3 separate regions of the Homo sapiens genome follow, and regions 2 and 3 are each linked to region 1. Evidence: promoter capture Hi-C in 16 types of primary human blood cells and fetal thymus (Javierre and others, 2016). All regions are on one chromosome and are shown on one strand. Each heading gives the region's core, a stretch centred on a gene start or on the middle of the fragment in contact. The rest is flanking DNA. Distances are from core to core; before and after follow the strand shown.

The links. Contacts are between HindIII fragments. The CHiCAGO score rates a contact against its expected background, and 5 or more counts as called.
Region 2: a contact is called between a fragment that was not itself captured here and the fragment with the promoter of HMGCS2 in region 1, in 2 of 17 cell types (M0 macrophages and M1 macrophages). The highest score is 5.3, in M0 macrophages.
Region 3: a fragment that was not itself captured here is called in contact with the fragment with the promoter of HMGCS2 in region 1 in 1 of 17 cell types (M0 macrophages); the score reaches 5.2 in M0 macrophages.

Annotation. Positions count from the first base shown.
Region 1 is chr1:119,767,223-119,770,204 of GRCh38, forward strand. It overlaps HMGCS2 (3-hydroxy-3-methylglutaryl-CoA synthase 2), which reads right to left and starts at 1,683. Exons shown (of 10, transcript NM_005518.4): 1 at 1,519-1,683. The coding sequence starts at 1,622. RefSeq lists a silencer at 1,264-1,558. The HindIII fragment of the contact is 4,165 bases long and covers 82-2,982 here.
Region 2 is chr1:119,833,108-119,835,990 of GRCh38, forward strand. It overlaps the pseudogene NBPF7P. Among named protein-coding and RNA genes, the nearest start is that of REG4, 23 kb to the left of the region's middle. The HindIII fragment of the contact is 1,849 bases long and covers 560-2,408 here.
Region 3 is chr1:119,872,147-119,874,846 of GRCh38, forward strand. No RefSeq gene overlaps it. Among named protein-coding and RNA genes, the nearest start is that of ADAM30, 23 kb to the right of the region's middle. The HindIII fragment of the contact is 6,436 bases long and covers 1-2,700 here.

The sequences.
Region 1 (2,982 bases), core at 433-2,932:
CAGGCCCACAAAAAGGAATGTGAGCAAAATCTACAGGAGTTCAAAGGAAGCAGAGATTTCAGTGGGTTGGAGGATCAGAGAAGCTTCGTGGAAGAGACCGCATTTGAGGCAAACCTTGATGGATGACAGACTTCTGCCAGTGAAGAACTGGAGGGGAATGAAGGGGCAGTGGCCACGGCAGGGGGTGACTGAACAAGTAAGGAACCCTGGAGATGCAGGTGTATAGGGGAGCAGGGAGACAATATGTGAGAAATACAGTAAGTGGAGGGCACAAGTCTTACCGAATTTTGAAGACAGCAAAGCAGATGCTGAGATGAAAGTCTCTTTTAGGTTGGAGTTAGAGCCAATGTGGGTTGGATTAAAGGCGATTAGACATATAGAGAAAAGGTGACTCATGAAAAGCAATATTAGTTCAAGCCATGCATAATGGGATTAACTGTGAATATACCAGAAGGGAAATGGGAATGATTCCAAGAGTTTGAACCAAGGGAGTCAGAATGTTGGGGAGGATTGATGTATGTCTTTTGGCTGATGGCCAACTATTGCTATTAAAACAAGAAACCCACATCAATCTCTTCTTCACAAATATAGAAACAGGTTAAATCCTGAGCTGGGACATTTAACCCACATGCAGGGTTTGGCAGTGCATGGGGAGAGTGAGATGATGGTAGCATAATGAAAAATATAAGAAAGCTATGTGCATTTGCCTCTACCATGCACATCTATACACCCAGGTTCCTTGGGTATTTGGCAAGGAAAGACACTAGGTCAAAATCATTTTTCTAAATATTTAGTAGTCATAGAATATAGAGTAAAAATGTAAGGAAATAAAGAACTAGTCCCAATGTGTAGTGGATGGTTTGGGGATTAGACAGAAACACATAGGTGGCTGGGAGCCTGAGGCACTAACGATAGCTGTGTTACCATCATCGCTGACAATGGAAAACATAAGCACTTGAGCCATGTTCAGGGACTATTTACAAAGAAAAGGAGTGTGCATGTTCTTCTTGCAAAGAGCATGTACACATACACACATAAACACACATTTCCCCTTTTCATAAAATTGGAACACAAGGCAAACACAGCTTCTCATCCTCAGTCCATTTCTGATTCTGCTGCAGTGATATAAAGTCACTGGTTTTACTAACACTGCAGTTGGCACAAGGTCCTGTGGTTCTAGGCAGAGGCTAGGGGTGAAGGTGGGAATGGTGGTGTAGAGAGGAAAGCTGTGGCCTGGTACTGATATTTCTACTGCTTCATGCAGCTGGCAGAGTAAAAGTTGCCATTGCTCACAAACACAGCATGTGTCAGAGGTTTGGGCTCTTCTCACTCTACAGCTGAAAGGGATTGTCTGTTTAGAGATGAGGTAACTGAGACCCTTTAAAGTTAACTTGCTTGTCTAAGGCTGCTGTGCACAAGCCTTGCCAAATTTTGAGTGGGATTCTAGTGAGTTTTCCCCAATAGCAGGGAAAAACTATCTTTTACTAGTTACAAGGTGCTTCTCAGAAAGTGACTCACCTTTGGTGGGCTACTGGGAGCAGGCGAGCAGGTGTGAGGGAGGTTTCCTGCACCGCTCTTGTCAGTTGCAGAATGCGCTTCACTGGAGTCAACAGACGCTGCATCTCCAGAGGAGCAAGCAGAAACCCAGCAGTTCAGAAACCCAGCAGAAACCTTGAAAGAGATGCCCAGTGGTGCCCGGCAGGACTTTATAAAGCCCCAAGACTCCTGCCTCCCTAAGCCCCGCCTCTGCTCACCGTGGCTCAGTCTGCTTCTAAAACTGGGTCAAAGGGCTCACTCAGAACACGGGCGAGTCAAAGACAAACAGCATCTCTCCAACATGTACATAGCTGCCCTGCTCCTGAGCATGTGTGGGAATGGCTGGGCATTGTTCCTCCTACTCCATCAGGCTCTGTGGCAGCCTTGATTCTGCCCAGCTACCTAAGCAGGAGGTTATGATGTTCCTTGTTGTATCACATCCCAAGGTAACCCTATGTGTCTTGTTTTAGACCCTGGCTCCTTATCTGTATTACTCTCACTGGGTGTTCCACACTCCTCTCTGTGGTGTTAGTTGTTATTATTTTAATGTGCTATGCATTATAAGAAACATCTTTCTAAACCAAAGGGAAACTCTTTTAATAGTAGCTTTTCAAGGAGTTGGGAGTGAGTGTTGGCACATAGGCCAAGGGCTGGGCGTTAGAGTATGTGGAACCTACTATATTTCTCCTGTTTATTGTCCACCCTTTTACTTGTACAGCTCTACACAATTTCCAAGTGGGATGAAATTAGTGTTGTAGTAAAGGGACAGGAGCCTCAAAGAGGTGACAGTTTGAAGCTCAATCTCCTAAGGAGGAAAGGTTTACTTTATAGATGAGGTCAGAGTTATGTATAAAGGAGTCATTTTCCCAAAGACCTGCAGCTAGGAAGTTGCAGAATGAGAACTCAACCATGTCTTTTGACTCCAGATTCTGGTCCTTCTGCTTTGCTCTTCTACTACTCAATAAAAAGGCTCCTGCCATCTGATTTTCCAAATGAATGTCTCCCTCCACTCCTCCCACAGCACCAATCTTCCTCTACCTTTTGTGAGTCATGCATTCACTCCTTAGTTCATTCAGTCATCCCCATCACCAACCCCCTGTCTAATATGAGTGTGTAGGGAACACAGAAAAGAGCTGGAGTGGTTCCTGCTTTAGGAGGATATAGTTGACTTCATGTTCCTACAGACAGAGAATGTCTAGGTGCCCCCAGCAGTCCAGGATATCTAGGTCTTCCATCTTATCTTTAAATTCTTATCTCCATATATCTTGGTGTGTTGGTGTTCTAACTCAATCTCCTACCTTGCTGTGTCACCTCCTGCTCTTACACTCAGCCTTTTGCAAAGTTCTGTCGTCAGTGAAATTCTTCATTTCCAATCTCTTCTCTGAAATACCTGTTGCTTCTTGTCAATCCAATGCACTTTAAATGCTTACAACAAGGCCTGTGTCC
Region 2 (2,883 bases), core at 234-2,733, 66 kb after region 1:
TCAAGAATAAATTCCTTTCAACAAGTGATGCCCAGGACACTCACTTTTGAATAGTTCATGAGCCTCAGCATATTTAATTGTGGATCTGAACCAAAAGCCAAGGTGGAGACAAGGTGGGAAACACAGGCGGTCACTGGTATATGCTTGGGTTGAACTAACACCATAAGAAATGGCAGGTTAAGAGGTCAGAGAAGAGGAAAATAATATCTTTGGTTGTCATAGTGGTAAAAATTTAAATTCAAAAGAGAAGATTAAAAATGTATAAACCAAATATTAGAAGTGTGTCAAGTTAAAAGGGGACTTTTAAACATGATGCCAAAACATGTTTAGTGCACTTTCAAACATGAGCTACACAACCCTTCCTAAATAACAAACAAAAGACACACACACAAACAAAGACAACAAAATAACATTGACAAAGAAATGTAGTAAATACCATCTACTACTACATATGATAAATGTAGACTAAAATATGGAAGAGTTTGGAATGTAAACAGGGAAATAAGAATGTTTTTATTAATCTGTATCCTTACCCACCAAAAACAATCATAATAATAAAAGCTTAAAACATTGTGTGTAAAAAAAATTCACTAGTCCAGAGTAATAGGCAAGAATATTTTAATTAAACAGATTTAAAACATAAACATTTTAATTTTAATAGACTAAAATTAATCTTGGATGAAAGTTAAAATTTGGGCAGGGAATATTCTTTTTCACAACAGAATGCCAGCAGAAACAAGTTCATACTAAGGACTGAGATAAAAATTTCCAACGTACAAACATAAATATAATAACTGACACAGCCAGGGGTGATTAATTGATGATAAAATGCTCAGAGGAAGATTGTTAGAATACAGGTATTTGTACTTTTTCAAACCACTTTTCAAATTAATTATAAATCAGGTGTCTTTACAAGGGACAGATCTCCTAGACCCCTCCTTAACCAGGTAACCAGTCCTGATATCACAATAATGGTGATGGACAAACTGGACCTTCTCTGCCCGCAGATGGACTGAGGTTGGAAACTCACAGCATTGACTTTGCAGTGTTCCTGGCAAAACATTTAGGCTGAATTTAATCATAAGGAAATTTTCTGACAACTTCAGAATGAAGAAAATTGAGCCAGACAGCTGACGTCCTCTACAAACAAATCCATGTCACCACCATCAATGACAACAACAAAAAGATGAGGAGATACTTTGGGTTCAAAGTGACTAAAGAAGTGAGCTACATTATCTTTTCAATCCTTTTGAACCCAAAATGTCTCTTCTCTTTTTGTTGTGTGATTTGTGGTGACATGGATTGTGTGAAGGAGAGCGGTCAGTTGTCCTGCTCAGTGTTCTACATTCTGCAGTTGTCTGCTGATTACTTCCTATGAAACTCAGGCTAAGTGTTTTCCGCAAGAATATGGCATTGTTCATATTCTGCACTGGCAGAGTCCCGGGTGACATGCTGTCTCCTGCCAGCGGCTCCTGACTCCTGTTCTCTACAGGATGGAATTGAGAGGAGCAGGGCTAAGGCCTCTCAATGCTGTTTGTCCATCTGGGAATTGGTCTCCTTGGGTATTCATCTCAAGTGGAAATAGGATGAATTGTGGTTTCTCAAATCAAAGGAGCCTAGTGGTTTGCAATCATCAAGAGCATTCTGTGTCTAAAATTCAATCCTCAGTGAAGGAGCCCTGCAGTGTTGTGTTTGGAATTGAACTTGGTTTGCTGTTGTAGTTTTTTTCATCGAGCAGAAAAGCTACTTTTTGTGACATCCTTTCATCCTTTTCATCCTTCCAGCAGTATTTGGTATCTGTATGAGAGAGGAAAGGAAAAATGAAAAGAGCATCTATGTCAGGTCTTGCTGATGGCTGAGTTTGGAGGGATTGCTAAGTGGTGATAGCCCAGGGGCAAACTGAGCTTCTGCTGGGAGGATGAGCTGAAGCCTGAGCCTCCGGCTGGCTGAAGAGGCAAGTGCCGTCCACAAGTGAGAAGAAAACAACCCTGAACTTCCAGTCAGCCTGGAGTGCAGATAGAAGGACCTGCTTATGCCCAACCAGCATCCGATGACATCAGCCCCTTTCTTCCTGATCCCCTTTGTCCGGAGCAGAGTGATGGCTTTTCACACCTCCCAGGGAGGATGTGCTCAGCATCAACCATGCACACTCAGAAGCAGAGGGCTTAGAAGGAGAGGGCCCTTTGCAAAGAAAACCACCCCCTTACAACTCCATGTCCCAGTCTTTTGAGAAGATGCAGGAGAGCAGACTATTGGAAGAACCCAGGATATGAGAAGTAGCAGAGGCCTCAGACAATACTCACAAATAGGGAAGAGAAAAGCAGTGGGAGAATGAGCTATCATCATAGACAGAGAAATAAGGAGTGAGGGCCGCTAAGAGCCATAGATGTGATTACCTTCCTACTCTAAGCTTGCAGGCCAGAGAATCTGCATGCCAGTCTCCACTTGCTGAACGGCAGTTTTCTTTTGATCATTTTTGGTTTTAGGACACTTGAGGCGTGAATGTGGCCAATGACTTGATGCCCATGTGTGTTGTCAGCTGAACCTTCAAGAGCATCACCTTCCAGCTGGGGAGGGATCTTCATTGCAAGGGAAGGCTCTAAACCCAGCTCTGAAAATAAAACCACAGACAGTGGGATCCACTGGCATTGATGATCTTACTGTGACTTTCCTTCTACCCAAAGAACATCAAGTAAGGAAAAGTGACACCCAAAGGGTGAGGGGAAGCCAATGGAGTCACTTTGATATTTTCTTTTTTGTTGATCTTTCTCACATTACCCAGCAATGACAAGATTGCCAGGAAGCAAAGACACTCCCAATCCACAAAAATATTCAAAAAACATGTGTCATTCTAGACAGGTTGTGGGATGCAAAGAATAGGAA
Region 3 (2,700 bases), core at 11-2,510, 100 kb after region 1:
ATATTTCACTAGCAACGAAAGTGGGTGAATCAGTGATGACTGTTAAATCCACAACATTTAGTTAAAAAAAAACCCAGGCATAAGAGAATACACGTGTATGATCACAGGTTAAAACCTAGACCCATCAGGAGGGCGGGCATGAGAAGCAGAAAATTATAAAGAACCAAACATCGTGAAAATCAGGTAATGGTCATTGCTAAGGATATGAGGGGTGCTGTGGTGAGGAAGGGGCATGTGGGAAGCTAGTATTTAGTCCTAGCTAGTGCTTGCATGTTAACATATGCAAGAATTTATACCTATGTTTTATTCAACTTCTGTATATTGCATTACACAATTAAAGAAAAAATATTATTTCTTGTCAGTACATATCCTAATAACTAATATTAGCAGAGCTTTTACCAGGAACCATACTGTGCTAAGTGTGCATTTGGGTTATTTCAGTCGGCACAGCATACTGAGCTGTGGGTACTATTATGTCCATATGACACACAGGGAAAGGATAGGAGGTAACCCTGGTCCCAGCCAGGCCAGCGATGTCACCAGGACTCTAGGAGGCCCTCTGTGCAGAGATGGTGCTGGCAACCACAAGCCATACCTAATGTCCCAGAGCAACAGCAGTGCTTCAGAGGAGCCTGGAGCCCTTTGTATTCTAAAGCCTGGGACTGTGGTGCCAAGTGCTTTCCGGGGGGAAAGGATTGTCCTGACTCCTGGGACCTCTCAAAGCAGAGAGTGTGGAAACTGGCACAGCACAGCACAGCCCAGTTACCTGCAGGTATTTTGTGAGCCCAGAGGATAGAGTTCCTTAAGGACAGGGTTGTCAGAGTGTTCCAGGTGTCTTAGAGGCATTTAGACAGGATGTCTAAAGGCAGAAGCAAGGGTTGGTAATCTCCAACAGAGTCCAGAAAATTTGGAGAGAATGGACAACAGAGATGAGACAGAGCCTGCAAGACATAGCATGAGATTCCCACATGCACTTCTTATGTTCTCCCGAAAGATCATTCCTGATGGAAACATGTGGAAGCATGCTTGCATGCATGCCTATGCACACACACACACACACACACACACACACACACAGAGCAACAACAAAATAAAAAATAGAAGCTGGCAGCAATGGTGCAGTGACCGCACTGCAGCCTTTTACTTGAACTTGATGGCACAGGGAAATGTCCTGACAGAAAGGGCAGGTGGTTTATAAGCCCCAGTGAGATGATGTTCTAGAGATATGCCTGGATACCTGGATGTTCCTTTAGGAAATGAAAATAGTCCTGAGGGTTGGATAAAGATGAAGCACTTTATTAAACTGTATTTGGCCTCAGGCCATCTTATCACAGAATTTCTGCTCTGGTAGATATCTACACGAGAAAGAAAGAGGTTTTAAAGACCCCAAAACTAATTAGAGCAGTGTAGATAAATGTTTTGTCTACATAGATTGTTATTTGATTTTTAAAAAAAGGTTCATTTCCTTCAGAATTAAAGTTGACCCTAAGCTCAGCTCACAAATTCTTCTCTGTGGCTGCTTTTGGTTTTGGGTTCACGCCTGGGGCAGATGTGATTTATTTTCTTGTGCTTGTTATTAATCCAGAAATGTAATTTCAGTGTGGGCTTGGAATAGTGCTCTGGGACATGAAGCAGAAGTGAACAATGGAGGTTAGGTGGATATGAGTCAAAGAAAACTGACCACACTTTCTCTCAGCTCTCTTTTACAGCATGATGAGCCTCAAGAGCTGGGGGAGGTTTCCATTGCTGTCAGTGCTCCCAGTTCAGTAAAAATGTTTGGCATGAGTTGACAAGTACATTTGCCAGAGGTGGTGCATGAGCTCCTTGTGTCTGGGAATGGAGATTTTCATCATGGTGCTTTTATTTTGAGCTAGATGTTCCTGTTTCAGTCCAGCCTCTAGCTGGTGAAGAGTTATTCTCTAGAATGAGGCTTTTCTCACAACCATCTTTCTATTTTTTTTTAAGACTGTAGGGATGGAGCTTTTTGATTGAGAGAGGAAAATACTTAAATCTGGGACTGGACAGGTATTCTCACTTATATTCTGCATGGAGGAATGGGAAAATGTGTCTCATATTTCAATTTATCTGCTGTCAACTTGATTGTGAGGACTCTACAGTAAGCCTGTTCTCTGAATTCTACCTCCTCACCCCAAATTCAGTTTCCTATCAGTTGGGCAGACTGCCACAGTGCTAACTGGAAGCACCCTTGCCCCAGATGTCCCAGAGTTGATTAGTGGCGCTGTTGGTGGAAACAGGGACAAGTGGATAGTCTAGCCCCACATGCAGGAGGTGAGACTGCAGGATCTTTCCTGCCCTGCAGTCCATGACTCAGGGTGTAGCCTTGGCTATGTTACAGGCACGATCCAGTTTAACTTCATGGCTCTCTAAGCCTCCATGGAATGATTGTAAGTAGGTTCAATAACATATTTATTGAACAACTACTACATGAAGTATATTATGCTAGATGCTGTAAGAGACACAAAGAAAAAATTAATTCCTATTTTAAGAGTAGTAAAATTCACTAGGGAGAAATAAGAAAGTCCACATATAGTCACACTAAGAAGTAGAAAGTATGTGTGAATGTGAATTTCTTTTTTTTTAATTTTTATTATATTTAAGTTCTGGGATACATGTGCAGAATGTACAGGTTTGTTACATAGGTATACACGTCCCATGGTGGTTTGCTGCACCTATCAACCC